Linked DNA regions of Homo sapiens: region 1 is linked to region 2. The links are contacts of gene promoters, found by promoter capture Hi-C in human tissues and cell types (Jung and others, 2019). All regions are on one chromosome and are shown on one strand. The core of a region is centred on a gene start or on the middle of the fragment in contact, and the rest is flanking DNA. Distances in the headings are between cores, read along the strand shown.

Region 1 (7,660 bases), core at 110-2,609, 87 kb before region 2:
ACCCTAAAAGCTTTTCTGTAAATATAAATATAATGTGAGACACACATTGCCCGCATTTACTCTGGACTTGGTAGGAGTCACCCTGCCTTTGTGAATCATGTCTCCAGGAGCATGTAAAAGTCCAGTCTCAGGCATCAACCCCACTGTGCTCCACATTCAGTATCCTCATTCCCCAATTTCCTGGCCTTCTTATTCTATTGCTTTTTAAAAATGATGGGTACGTTACATGAAAATAATTAGTTCTCTTTTATTCCTATATTTATTGCTCCTATTTTCTTCTTCTTAGGCAATTATTTAAAAAATGCATTTAGCATGTTCCTTTTCATTTGTATGTGTTTTTGCAAGATGAATGTTTTGTGATTGTATTTTTAATAAGCAAATATGTAGCGATGAACACCCAGGTTGCCTCCAACTTGCCAGTACTACATATTACACTATAATAAATATTTTTAGAGATTTTATGTAACAGTCTAAGAATTTTTGGAAAAATATACCTTCTAGGCTGGTCATAGATTATCTGTATACTTCATCTGACTCCTACCAAGGCAAGAGTATGGATGCAGGCAATGTGTGTCTTACATTATATTTATATTTACAGAAATGCTTTTAGGGTCAAAAATAAGTGGTTTACTAAAAGTCATTTGGCCAACTATGAAAATAACTCTATCAAATCAAATAGGCCAACCAAACCCACCACCATAAGATTCTTGGCATTGTATTATATATTCTTGTTGGTTTCATAGCCCAATGCTTTTTATCAATTCATTTATCATTTTATTAATATTATATGTATATTTGTTTTAATATAATATTTATTTTCATTAATATAACAAATATTTTTAGAGATTTTATGTTAACTGTCCAAGAATTTTTGCATATATGTACCTAGGAGTAGAATGACTGGTCATAGATTATCTATATATTTCATTTGACTACCTAGTGACAGAAAGTGCTTTTGAGCAGTATTTTAACATATCTTTTATAACATCTTTTGAGGTATAACTCATATACCATAAATTCACCTCTTTAAAGTGTATAATTCAGTATTTTTTCATATATTCACAGAGTTCAAGCATCCTAATATGTAATTTTAGAATATTTTCATCACCCCATCCCCAAAACACACCCTATTCCCATGAGCAGTCATTCCTTATTTTCCCCTCATTCCTGCCTCTAACAACCACTAATCTACTTTCTGTATCTAGATATTTGCCTATTTTGGACACTTCATAGATTTAGGATCATAAAATACATGGCCTTTTATGTCTTCAGGGTTCTTGCACTTAGCAGAAAGTTTTTAAGGGTCATCCATGTGGTTGCATGTATCTATATTTCATATCTTTTTTTTTTTTTGAGATGAAGTCTTGCTCTGTCATCCAGACTGGAGTGCAGCAGCACAATCTCGGCTCACTGTAACCTCCGCCTCCCAGGTTCAGGCAATTCTCCTGCCTCAGCCTCTTCAGTAGCTGGGATTACAGGTGCGTGCCACCATGCCCCGCTAATTTTTGTATTTTTAGTAGAGACAGGGGTTCACCATGTTGGTCAGGCTGGTCTCTAATTCCTGACCTCATGATCAGCCCATCTCTGCCTACCAAAGTGCTGGGATTACAGACATCAGCCACCACACCCAGCCTATTTTACATCTTTTTTATGGCTGAATAATATTCCCTTGCATGGATATACCACATGAATATTTATCCACTCATCAGTTGATGGACATTTGGCTTGTTTTCACCTTTTAGCTATTATTAATAATTGTGATATAAACTTTGGTGTACAAGCTTTTGTGTAAACGTATGTTTTCATTTATTTAAGAGTGGAATATTTGGGTCATATGGTCACTCTATGATTAACTATTTGGGGAAATGCCAAACTGTTTTTCAAAGTGGCTACAACATTTTACATTCCTTCTAGCAGTGTATGAGAGAGTTTCAGTTTCTTCACTTCCTCACCAATACCTGTTTTTGTTTGTTTTATGAGTCTAGCCACTTCTCTGAGTGTTAAGTGGTATTACATTGTGATTTTGATTTCCTGGTGGCTAATGATAATGAGCACTTTTTATACATTTATTAGGTATTTGTGTATCTTCTTTGGTGAAATTATTTTATCAAAGTTGAGATTCCTGAAGGTTGTATTATGTCCCATAAAAGATTTGTTGAAGTCTTAACCCCAGGTACTTTTGAATGTAACCACATTTGGAAACAAGGTCTTTGAAGATGTAATTAAGTTGAGATGAGGTCTTACTGGATTAGGATGGGCCCTAATCCACTGACTGGTGTCTTTATAAGAAAAGAAAAATTTGAATACAGAACACACATGGAGAACGTCACTTGATGATGGAGATTGGAAGGCTGTGTCTACAAGTTAAGAACACAAAGGGTTGGTGGCAAGCTAAAGAGAGTCAAGGAAGGGGGCTCCTTTGACCCTTCAGAGAGAATATGGCTCCGCTGACACCTTGGTTTTGGACTTCTAGCTTTCCAAACTGTGAGAATAAATATCTGTTGTTGTAAGGCACCAAGTTTATGTTAATCTGGTAAATCTATTTTTTTCTTTTGCTGATTGTTCTTTTGATGTCACATAAGAAATTGCCCAATCTAAGGTCACAATGATTTACTCTTATGCTTCCTTCCAAGAGTTTTGTAGTTTTGTTCTTATAATACTTAGGTCTCTGGTTCATTTTGAATTAGTGTTTTTATATGATCTTGGTCCCCCAGGGATTTTTGTAACCTTTGGCCCCTTCCAACTTTTCTGAAGAGGCTCTCTGCCTGCTCCCTCACCATGCTCAAGCAACTAGTACCAATCTTACATATTCCTCGATACCACTGTGGTTGCTTAAGTAAAAGATCAATTTTCCAGTAGGTCTTTTTCTGAAATTTTTCTTTCACACTTCAGCTTGTGCAGTAATTTAGCTAAGTGGAGATTTCTCTTTAGGCAATATTTTTCCTCAGTACTCTGAATAGGTTATTTTGTGATAAATGTTCTTTGTATGTCATCTGTCTTTTCTTTTTGATTGCTTTTAAGATTTTTGTCTTTTCAGTTTTACTATGAAATAACTTAAAATTTAAATTTTATTGCTTTTTATGAGTCCAAGGATTCATATATCTTGCCTGTTTTTTTATTGGGCTGCATATATATTTATCTTATTGAAGCTATTCGTGATTATACACTGTCTGTTTCCCTCTAGAGTTAACCACCATTCTGATTTACTGTAACTGTCTCTTTGCTTTTCTTTATGGTTTTACCATCATGTATGCATCCCTAAACAATACAGTTTAGTTTTTCCTGTTTTTGAGTTTACTACAAATATAATCAAACAGTATACATGCTTTAGAATTTCCCTTCTTTCTATAAACACGTTTTTAAGATTTATCTATGTTGCTTCAAAAAGCTGTAGTTTATTCATTTTCATGACTGCATAGTATATCATTTGATGTTACACATTTATGTCACTTGAAAACAGACATGGTCAGAATACCGTTTTCCTTTCAATATCCATACTAAATGTTTTCCATTATTTAGATTTTCTTTAATGAATTTCAATAAAATTTTATAATATTATCTCTTGGACTTATTTTACACATTTTGTTATATTTTCTTTCATTCTTTGTATTTTTGCTATTATAAATTGTATCTTACACACGTATTTTCTAGCTGTTTGTAGCTAGTATGTAAGAATGCAATTGATTTTTTACATACTTAATTTAAAACATATTTGTTATTGACTTTCAATTTATTTTCTTTATAGTCAGAGAACATACTTAATTTAAAACTTATCTTTGTTATTGACTTTTGATTTATTTTCTTTATAGTCAGAGAGCATAGTTTGCATATTCCAATTCTTTGAACTTGAAAGTATAGTTATGTGTCACTTAATGATGGAGATATATTTTGAGAAATGCTTCATTAGGTGATTTCTTCTGTGCAAATATCAAAGAGTGTACTTAGACAAACCTAGATTACTTACTACACACGTAGGATACAAACCTTACAGCATGTTACTGTACTGAATACTCTAGGCAACTGTAACACAATGGTATGTATTTGTGTATCTAAATCTATCTAAACATAGAAAAGGTATAGTAACAAATATGATATAAAAGATTTAAAAAGGTACACCTGTATTGGGCATGTACCATAAATGGAGGTTGCAGCACTAGAAATTGCTCTGAGTGAGTGAGTAGTGAGTGAATGTGAAGACCTAGGGCATTACTCTACACTTTTATGTGACTGGCAGCATAGTAGATTTATTTCACCAGAATCACCACAAACATGTGAGTAATGAGTTGTACCACAATGTTAGGAAAGCTACGTCACTAGGTAATAGGAAATTTTCAGCTCCATTATAAACGTATGGGACTACCATTGTATATATTGTCTACTGTCGACTAAAGTATTATGCAGTACATGACTGTATTTGTAATGGCACACATATATTCTGTTATAATCTCCCCAAAGGAAACACTTCATGTCCCACCTTACATCCAATATGGGTTTAAAGTTGCCCAGCTATCTCCTTCTAGACCTGTGGTTCTCAAGGTTGGTGGTGGAGGATGGGATACTTCTCTCTAGGGGAATTTTGGATGTTTTTGAGAGCATTTTATTTGTTATAACAATTGAAACGACATCAAGTGGCTGGAAATTGGAGATGCTTTATTTCCTGGAATGCAGGGAAGAATTCTCCTATGTCCTGCTTGACTGAAGGTCTTGCCAGTCATTCAATTACAAAATCCATTTGTAATTATTTGAGCATAGGAACAACTTCATTATATATGCAAACACCAATTATTTTCTGAATAGTTTTAATATGTAATAAATTTCTCTGGAATGCAACTGTGACATACATTTAATCTGACCATAATAATTTAGTTTTTATATCTAGATGTTGAATATCAGAATGCATCTGCAATAACCAGATGAATATTGTCCTACTTATTATAAATCCATATTGGTTGATAATGAGAATCTTATTAGTCCCCATCATCTAGTGTCATCATGGTTGAGGATCTGAATATTGAAATACTTATTTTATTTTAAATTCCTTTTAAATTTCTTATTAGAACAATATAGGGATTAATTAGATTATATTGTTCTTATGTAATTAGAACAATATAGGGATTTAAAATTAGGTATGTGTGTAAGTTATATGTTCTGAAAATTTCATGATAGTACAAGAATGTTAAAAAAATATTTTTTATAAAGAAGACTGAGCCAGACAGGGCTTAGATTCACTGTTTTAGAGAACTAGTCGGTGAACCATAAATGCTGTTTCTCTTCGTGATCAGTTTTAAAGTTTCAGCCAACCCCACAAATACAGCAGGCAATCATCTTATACTTTTGTACAAGTGACTAAAAAAACTTTGTCCTGATAAAAAGTTGGTAAACTAGTGTGTATGTGTGTGTGTGTGTGCATGTATGTGTGTGTATCTGTCTGTGTGTGTGTTTGTTTATAATGGAAGGACCAAGAAAACTAAAAGCTTTCAGAGAAAAAAACTGAAGGTAGGGTTTGGACAGGTGGTGTCCTTTCTTCCTTTGTTGCTTACATTTGGTGCTGCTAATATTTTTCTTTTCAACTGGAAGGCTAGATGGGAACAACTCTAAAGGAATGAAATCATTTCAAATTATTTGTATGTAATCTTATTTAAGGAGTCAGCATTTGGAAACTGGACAAGCGTTATTATTTTGAAATTTTCTTTTGAATTTGTAGCTCATTAGAAGCTGAGATTAAGTCATTTAACAAATTCTTAGAAAGTAATATTGATAAAACAATAATAGAAAATAATTATTTATATTTTCATCAAGATTGCCATAACTATGATGTGTATGCTCTTGGTTTTCATATTTTAGGATTTGAGAAATTTAAACTTTCCTACCTCTCTGTATTTGAAATAGCTTACCTCTTCTTCCAGCTACCTTTTAGATGGTCTGTTTAGTCTGTTGCCATAGCAGTCACTACTGTGCTTCCTAATATTTGGCTGGAAGACCAAATTTCTGCTGTAGGTGATAGACATGGCAATTTTGCCCCAGCAACTGGCCAAAATAAAAGATGGTGTGAATGGATGGGAGGATCATTACACTCTACCCCAAATTCTGTGTGAGTGTGAGCTACACGTATTACAAGTTGAAAGAACAGGAAATCTAATCTGGGTCATGAAGCCAAATAAATAAAGCAGTTGCTGACTTTAGGTTTGAGACCAAGAACGAGCTAACAGACATCTGATTCATATGCATTGTATAATGGAAGAGATAGACTTTTATGATTCACATTTTTCCTGACCAACTGCCAACTCTCCTCTGACTGACTGACCAAATGTCAAATATTCTTTGGAGGTTTTCCTGGTGTTTTAGTCAATCTGTAAATCTCATTACTTTTCTAACAGTCTTTCCAGAACATCTTTTGTATTTACTTTTCCATTATTTTCTGCATAGTTTTCCAGAATGTACTTACTTAGGATGTTATTTTCAACATATGTATGTAGATATCAGAATCATTTTGCTTAAAAATATAATTTCAATTAGGGATACATAACTTGATGGCAACAGCTTGATGGTTTCAGTATTAATTGTTCTTAATACAAGTTAGTTAGAATTAGTAAGAACACTAAAGATGCTGAATGGAATCCGCATGATTATATTGATTGTGAGTTACATCAAGCAATTCTTATTCTCGGTAATTTTTTATGGAAAAGTTTGGGTGAAGTGTCAGATTAGAGGAATTCAATGGATTTAAAAATAATTATAAACATTTTTATAATGAAATAAATATCAAATAGATGGATATGTCAGTCTTTCAAGGAATTTGAATATCTCCATGAATGCCCATCCTGAACTTTTGTTTCTGGAAACTTTATATTCAAATCTCTAAAAACACACAAATATCTGTTCTATTTTTGAACAATTCATGGAAGGAGAATAATAGTGTCTGTCCATCAGTAACTAGGTCTCATGCTTTACAAAGTTCACTGGATGGAAGATTTTCCTTTTATATAACTTGAATTCCAACTACTGTAATGTAATTTCCCTTTTACATATTCTGAATAGAGAACATCTGGTCACCACCTTTCTTTCCTTCTTTTACCTTTTGCCAAATGCCATTAGCAGAACCCTCTTCTCTGACCTTTACTATTCATGCTTGACCCTTAGAAAAACCCGACTTTATTTTTGTCTGTGGTGTAGGTCATGGTGCACAGGCAGTAGGTTTTTTGTTTACATCAACCTCATCACCTCATTGAACACATCATTTCTCAGCCTTTGCCGGATTGAGCTTTCAAGAGCCAGGCCTACTGATTTTCATACCGCAAATCTAAGCCCTACATCACTTTCTAGACCAAACAGAACAACTTCTGCTCCCCATGAGACTGACTTTACTAATTATCCTCCCAGTTCTAGAATGAGTCTCCTGCAGTCACTGGGCTACCCAAATACTCTTAGTTGCCAACTAGCCTTGGCATTTGCAGGCACTGTACTCCTAGGTTATCTTAAAAAGACATTATCTCTGTTTGCTAAAGGTTTTGAATTGAAGTCTGTGGATGACTTTCTGGGAAGCTGTGATTCCCCTGAAATGAACTGTACAATATTGTGTGTTTGCATTTTTTTTCTGAAAGACTTCATAGCTTATAGCAGTTTTTTTGAAAGAGGAATATAATACAACAAAGTTTAAAAA
Region 2 (7,349 bases), core at 2,529-5,028:
GCTTCTCCAGTGGGAGATGTTTAATTGAGGCACTTGAAAAATATAGGTCTGTAGCTCAGGAGGAAGGCCTTGACTAGGAGTAATTAACATGTAAACAGAAATAAAGTCAAGGGATTTAATTTAATAGTTAATATACCCCAAGTCAATGGGCAACAAGGGAAAAAAGCTGATAGTGCAAGATTGGAGAGCATAGATGACTTTCTGAGAGGAATTAGAAAAGGAAGTTTGACTAGCAAAGCAGGAGGCATAAAAGGAGTATGTGAGACCAGGGAAGCCATGAATGGAAAGAGTTTCAGTATTAAGGGAGTAATCAGAATGTCAACTGTTAGGAGGGGAAAGAAGAAAGATCTTTGGGTTTATCAACAAAGGGATGTTGGTGTCTCTGCCAGTGCAATCTAAACTAGAGTGCTAGAAATAAGATCCTGATATGGGGATGGAGGATTACTGAAAGAAGAAGGAATGGAAGGGAAAAAGAGACCACAGAAGATGTGGGGTTAAGGGAAACCTCCCCTTCTTTTTTTATTTTCAAGATTGACTATTAGTGAGGAGCAGCTTTACAGGCTGTAGGAAAGGTACTAGCAGAAGAAGAAAGGTGGAAGGTAGAGAAGAGAGAAGGAGACACTGACAGAGTAACATCTGCAAGGAGATTTGAAGAAATGGGATAAGGAGTGCAGAGGGAGGGATCATCCCTGAAAGGGCGCTGAGACAATTTTTCTTATAAGCCAGAGCATATAAATATGTGTGTCATGCATCAAGCTCAGCAGAAGTTCGGAGAAAGGGAAGATTATAAAATGAGATTAGGTAAGTAAGGCATTATCACTTTTCTTGGTGGAAGAAATACAAGAACCTTTGATTTTTATTATTTGTTTTTCTGTTATTCTTCCTGAATATTTAGCAAGGTGGTTTACAAGTCCTGATTTTCTCATATATTCCAGAAAGAAGTAGCTGAAGGGTGATTTTTGGTGCTTACTCAGCCCATTCATTAATTGGAAATAGGCTCCTCCTGGGGACAGTGTGGTGGTAATAGAAGTTTGAGTGTCAAGTAGGTCTAAAAAGAGCTAAAAAGGGGTGAGAACATTCACTCTGGAGTCAGACATCACTGAAGTGGAACCCTAGATTTATTGCTTATTAGGTGAGCAAACTTGAGCAAGTAAACATCTTTGAACCGTAATCGCCTATATATGATTTGAGAAAAATAATAAGTACCTTTCAGGGTTGCTGTGAGAATTGGAAAATATTCACCCACTAGCACATATTATTACAAAACATACACTGTTAGGATAGGCTTCACTGGAATTGGGACAGATTTCTGAGTACCCCACTGCAGCAGTGAGGTCTATAATCAGTTCTTTAAGGACTAAGAAATGGCATTGTCCTCTATTCTGAATTCAACCACATATATTAAACAGATATTCCTGGTCAATACCTGTGTATATTTTAGTCTTTTCCAAATTGTAATGTGGGACCCTAAAACCAGACATAGAGAAAAAGCCCAAGTTGCAAAATACTTTGCTATTTATGACTTGATTGCAATAAGATTTCAAGAGTTCACAAGGACAATATGGAATATTTACTTATCTCAGGTCTTCTGACAAATATTTGCTATGCTTCTGTCATACCATGAGCTTTCAGTAGGGTGGGAAGAGGAGATTGAAACTGGTGGCAACCATGAGAGACTGCATGGTGGTTTTAACCTTTCTTATATAAGCCATGTTTATAGTTAAATTTAAAACAACTTTATTAACAAACAGATAACAGATACTAAACTACTGATCTGAGCAGCCACTGAGTGTTCCATACACTGACTCTGCTACAAGTCCTGCAATCTTGCCTAATCATTGTTTTATCTCCAGCATAGGATCTGAGAGTTGTAGATTCTCCATAAATGTCTGCCGTCTTGCACTTCAGTAAAAATGCTGCACAAGGTGCCTGAAAATTGTGCCAGCCCTTCGGTATCAGGGTGGTATTGGTCTAAAATTGCCTCATGGTAGAATAGGACTGGCAAGCTCAGAGAAAGGTTAATTCCTCCCCCCCACATTTACTTATCTTCCTGTTATCTTTGAATATATAGTCAGATGGATTTCAAGTCCTAGCCTCTCTAAGATATTCTAGAAAGAATTAACTGAAAGGTGATTTTTGGTCCTTACTTAGCCCATTCATTAAGTGGAAGGGCACCCCTGAGAACAGTGTGGTGGTGACAGAAGTCATTGAAATGGGACATGTCTAAATGAAAAGATAAACTGAGAGGTACAGGGTTAGAAGCTGGAAACAACCGGGAAAATTGACCTCCACTGGAATATTTATCCAGAGTCTAGTTCCAAAGCTAAAATGCAAAGGTTCTTGGATTTCTTCTATTAAGAACAGTAATAATGTCTTGCTTGCCTAATCTCATTTGATAATTTCTCCTTTCTCCGGGCTTAATGCATCCCTCACATATTTATATGCTCTGGCTTATATATCTTTATTTCTTGTAAATTTAGTTTCTCAACACCTACATATGTTCCTTGAAGGTGATGGGTATGTCTTTTATTTCTTTTATGTCATCCTTTCTGCCCAGTGCTTAGCACAGTGCAAGGCACCTGTTGCCCAATAATTATAAACAATTGACTCACTTGTATTGTATAGAACATCCATCCTGATTCTAGGGAGACTCAAGGTGGCAAATACATTAGATTGTATAGAACTCTCTGAGGTCATTAAGATCTTGGCAAGTGTGAGGGTGGCACAAAAGTTCATCGATAATTTTCCTTAAAATGCATGTTCAACTGGGGCTATCATATTCCCTGCAAAGCTGGCTTAAAGCTAATAATACCACCATCTGCTTTTATGTAGCTCTTTGCAATTTGGAGCTTCATTAATAATACATTACTCATTTTAGTGTCACTAAACCCTGTACACTGGTCAGGGTAAAGCCCTTTTCTCAAATGAGAAAATTGGAGTGCACAGAGATAAAGGACTATATGCACATTTACAAAATTATTGAGTGGCAGAACCACTCACAAAAGGCAGAAGCAAGCCTTTTTTCATCCAAAGGTAGAGTACTTCCCATTCCTCTGCACTGCTTAGTAGACTATTTTTCAACATGGTAAAACTCTCTGGGACAAGAGGAACCTGAAGATGTGGCCCCTTAACAAGAGATGTGGAGAAATTAGGAAAGGACATGCTTTCTTAATTCAAATTACAATGTATCACAAATTCATTTATCCAAAATGGTTTTCTAACCTGGACTTTACCTGGGCAACATTCTAATAATCTCCTTCCAGAGTATGGGAAAAGAAACCGAATCTGAGAAGGGGATAAGAATACTCCCTATTCAGTCAAAAGAAAGGGTTAAAATGTGATTGTTTAAAGATTTAAGGTGGAGAAGAGAGTCTTGAATTATCTAAATGTAAAAAAACTAGGGTAAAAGGCTGGATTTCCTTCGGAATGTCTTTTTCAGCTTATAGGGGAAAAGTTAAAGGGTGTGTGTCTGGGGGGAAGGGTTAGGGAGGGGAAAATAGAACCCTTTTCTTCTAACAGCCTTTCTTAAAAAATAAAAGAAAAGAGAAACAAATGTTTGTTTCTGTTATTAAGCCCCATCTATGCTTAAAAGTTAAATGAAATAGGGAAAGTTCAGGCACAGAGACGCGTGTTCTGATTTGGTTGTTTACCATCAATCAGACCGTTGCTTGGCAGACACTGGATGGTTATGAGCCTGAACAAGCTGAAAAGGGGCAGGAAAAGAAGTGGAGGCAGCATTCTTCCTATTTAAAGCTGCATCGCTTGAAAAAAGTTTTCGCAGACTGTGCTGGAGCTGGTGCTGAAAAAGGGGGTTTGCAGAGGCTGCCCTGGGGCTGGTGCTGAAAGAAGAGCCCACAGCTGACTTCATGGTGCTACAATAACCTCAGAATCTACTTTTCACTCTCAGGAGAACCCACATGTCTAATATTTAGACATGATGGCAAACTGGGCGGAAGCAAGACCTCTCCTCATTCTTATTGTTTTATTAGGGCAATTTGTCTCAATAAAAGCCCAGGAAGAAGACGAGGATGGTGAGTTTGCCATTTGCTTTGCTTGTAGTGTTTATTGCACGGTTTGGGAAATAGGTGGAATGTTAAGCCTCAGGAAGAGCGTGAAGAGGAGGTTCTGGTTTGAAGTTTGAGAAGGGGGCTGACGGATTTGCACCTGGAAAACGACTTGAAAGACAATTGGGATGTTTGTAAATCCGGAGCTTCTAGATCCACCGTTGGAGAGAGTACACTACTAAATTTTTCTGGGAAAGCCTACAATAAGTCCTTTTGGCTGAGTGTGAGAGTGGGACGTTTAAAATAAGAAAAGAGTGAATGCTTAAAACGGAGCACTAAAGGCATTTTAGTTAGAGGAGCTCTGTTCTGTGGGCTGGAGTTTTCAGAGCAAGGAAAAGTCGCGGCAGAAGCTGGGTAGGGTGGAGTCTTTTTGTACTGAACTTCAGCTGCTTCATAAAATTCTTTGTTTAGTAAAACCTCTGCAGCAACTCTGATAGCTTTGATTTTTCTTTGTCTTTGGCTCCTCATTCTTTCCTCTTTAACAATTTAAACTTCTTTTTACCATTTTCATTTGTGAAAATGTGATCACTTTTGCTTACTGGGAGGCAGTCTCGTTTGTTTCTCCATGACAGAGGCTGATAGAAGCCAGATTTCTTAAACAGTGGTATTTTCCCACCCTACTGGCTTGATTAACAGGACAGTGGTGGTTCCCGGTTGGATGGCGGAAGGCAGGAAATCAGCATGTCTTGTATATATCTTATTTGGCATGGAATATTTGCATGGACATTACCCCTTAGACCCAAGCTTTTTTTTTTTTTTTTTTTTAAAGATAAATCTTGCCTGGTGACCACATTTTTTTCCTATGCAATTTTCATATGTTACAGTTGGGTTATATGGTATGGTTAAGCAAAAATGCATAGCTGTTGTAGTATATAAGAAAATATTTAAATTGATTCCTCTATTAAATCTTTAATCTTGAGGGTTGCAATTTCAAATACAGACATGTACTCCTTTAAAATAAGCCACTGTAGATTTTCATCAACTCAACCATGTAACATCAAACTCAAGCTTTTAAAACTTTGGACATTCATTAACCTTTTCTATTACTTTCATATATAGACACATACATACAGGTATATATGTATATATACTATGTATATATCTATATTTTTAGAACAAATATCTGCTTCTGTGTGTTTTTGGTTTCAAAAAGTTTATAAAATTAATCTAGAGATCAGAAGTTCTAAAAAGCTTAAAAAGTGAAAATACGAATTTGTAAATGAATATCCAACAATCTGTCAGGAGTCCCATAGAGGGGGCACTTTCTAAGACTTGGAGCTTTTTATGTTACGTTTTATGTTTTTAAAATATGAGGTAATTTATAAAAGGTGAAAACTTTTGAGTTTCTTTGTAATGGCATGAAAAGCATGTGTTGTTTGGAAGGGTGGCAAAAATAATTGAATAGAAAGTAGAAGAAAACAGGAGGAGAAAAACACAGAAAAATTACAATAGAAATTGAAAATTTGACTCTAGAAAGAACAGTTTACTCCCCTCCCCCACCAAAACAACCAACTTTAATTTAAAACCTTTAATACCACTTTCTTTGTTAATTTATGTTAAAATGAATAAAGTACTTTAATAAAGTATGGAAATAATTGAATATGTGAATAAATGAAAGGACTGTTTCACAAGGTACATGAAATAAGCCATATTTTAAAAGACATTCCCAAATAGTTATAATTACTCTGTAGGTGTTTTTGAAAAATGAGCAGATAATTTTTCTTAATAGTAATTGACATAAATGTAAGGAATGTGATGCTTGATGCAAAAAAGTCCCCAACTCCAATCCAACCCCAGTACCCCCCGCGAACAGTATAACCAAATAGCACAGAAAATGGAATTCCAAACATCAAATTTTACAGAATGTGTAATTGCTTGCATATGTGTTGTAAAAAATTCCAGTATTTTATTTCTCAACTTAAGAGAATATAAGTGATAAAAATTCAACAGCAAAAGAAAGTCGTCATTGCCCTAATCAAACATAATAGAGAAAATAATTCCAGAGTATAGTATATTCAGAGCTGCTTAACTTATATTGTACTTACTTACTATGCATATTTTGGTTTAAGTTGATATTGTATGGATACTTGGCAATACTTTCTTTTTCCTGTTCAGGCCTATCACAAGCTTAATAAAGGTGTCATAATTTAGAAACTCCATTTGATTTTGAGTTTGGGGAAGAGTAAGCTTAGATCGATGCTTTAAATTAAAGAAATATCTGAGGCACACATGAAAAGCAAGTACATTTTTCAAATTTTATCTATAACAGTCACATAATGTGATATTTACATTTTGTACAAATATGTCTTCTTGGAAATGTGGAGATCTGTTTTTGCATGTAAGTGCATATTAATAAGTTTTTATTTTTTTCTTTCTTTTTATGACTTCAGGGTATATTTCCCTTTACTTGACTGTGGTTATTTACCAGAAATGTAAAATGTAATCTGAGTATGCCTGCCTGATAGAAACATATGAATGAGAAGATAAAAGTAAATAAATAAAGTTTTAGGCATTTTAAGCCAAAATCAGTTCCATTCTCACTGAGTTTTAAGAACTGATTTGATTTTCTAAATTTATAAGAAACTGAAAGGAGAAAGTTTGGGAGTTGGGCTGACTTTAGTTAAAACTAACGTAACAAAAATTAGGGAGTTAAAATGAAAAAAATCAGCTTTTAAAGAGTTTGTGTGGGTGTATGTGTGTGTGTGAAAAATCAGGGAGTTAAAATGACAAAATCAGCTTTTAAAGAGTGTGTGTGCGTGTGTGTGTGCGTGTGGTGAGAGTGTGTGTGCATTGGGGTGGTGGTCTTCAAAAGATTCCACATTTGTGTTAAGGAAAATGCTAGAGCATTTACAGTGTATTTATATTCCTAAGTTAATGCCTAGCATCTAGTGAGCTATATATATTCTTGTTATTAGAAGTAGGCATGCTTAATTTTAGAAAATAATCTTTGTTATGAATCATTGTATTCAACATGGGATAAGCAATGGAGAAGGGAAGGTGCAGAAATGTATCATTTTGTTTCCAAATACTGTAAACCTCAATGCTTTCAGAGGCCAGGCAGGTAATATAAACAAGTGAAGCAAGCCAGTGTTTGTACATCAATAGGTGATGATGGGGCCTGTGGAGAACTGAAGGTGCATGTCCACTTTAAGGCATTCAGAATTAACATTTTCAGAAGATATTGCATATGACAAATAAAATATATCTGAGTATATATTTGGCTCCCGGCCCATGAATTTACAGCCATCATGTTGCAATCCTACACTGATATCCTCCTGGACCCAA

What was found. The method cuts DNA at HindIII sites, captures the fragments that hold promoters and counts their contacts. A contact is called where the count stands out against the background at its distance.
Region 1: a fragment that was not itself captured here is called in contact with the fragment with the promoter of COL5A2 in region 2 in 2 of the 25 tissues and cell types used here (mesenchymal stem cells and neural progenitor cells).

What each region holds. Positions count from the first base shown.
Region 1 is chr2:189,260,119-189,267,778 of GRCh38, reverse strand. It overlaps a transcript of COL5A2 not described here. Among named protein-coding and RNA genes, the nearest start is that of COL5A2, 84 kb to the right of the region's middle. The HindIII fragment of the contact is 4,538 bases long and covers 1-3,628 here.
Region 2 is chr2:189,176,190-189,183,538 of GRCh38, reverse strand. It overlaps COL5A2 (collagen type V alpha 2 chain), which reads left to right and starts at 3,778. Exons shown (of 54, transcript NM_000393.5): 1 at 3,778-4,031. The coding sequence starts at 3,935. The HindIII fragment of the contact is 11,142 bases long and covers 1-5,723 here.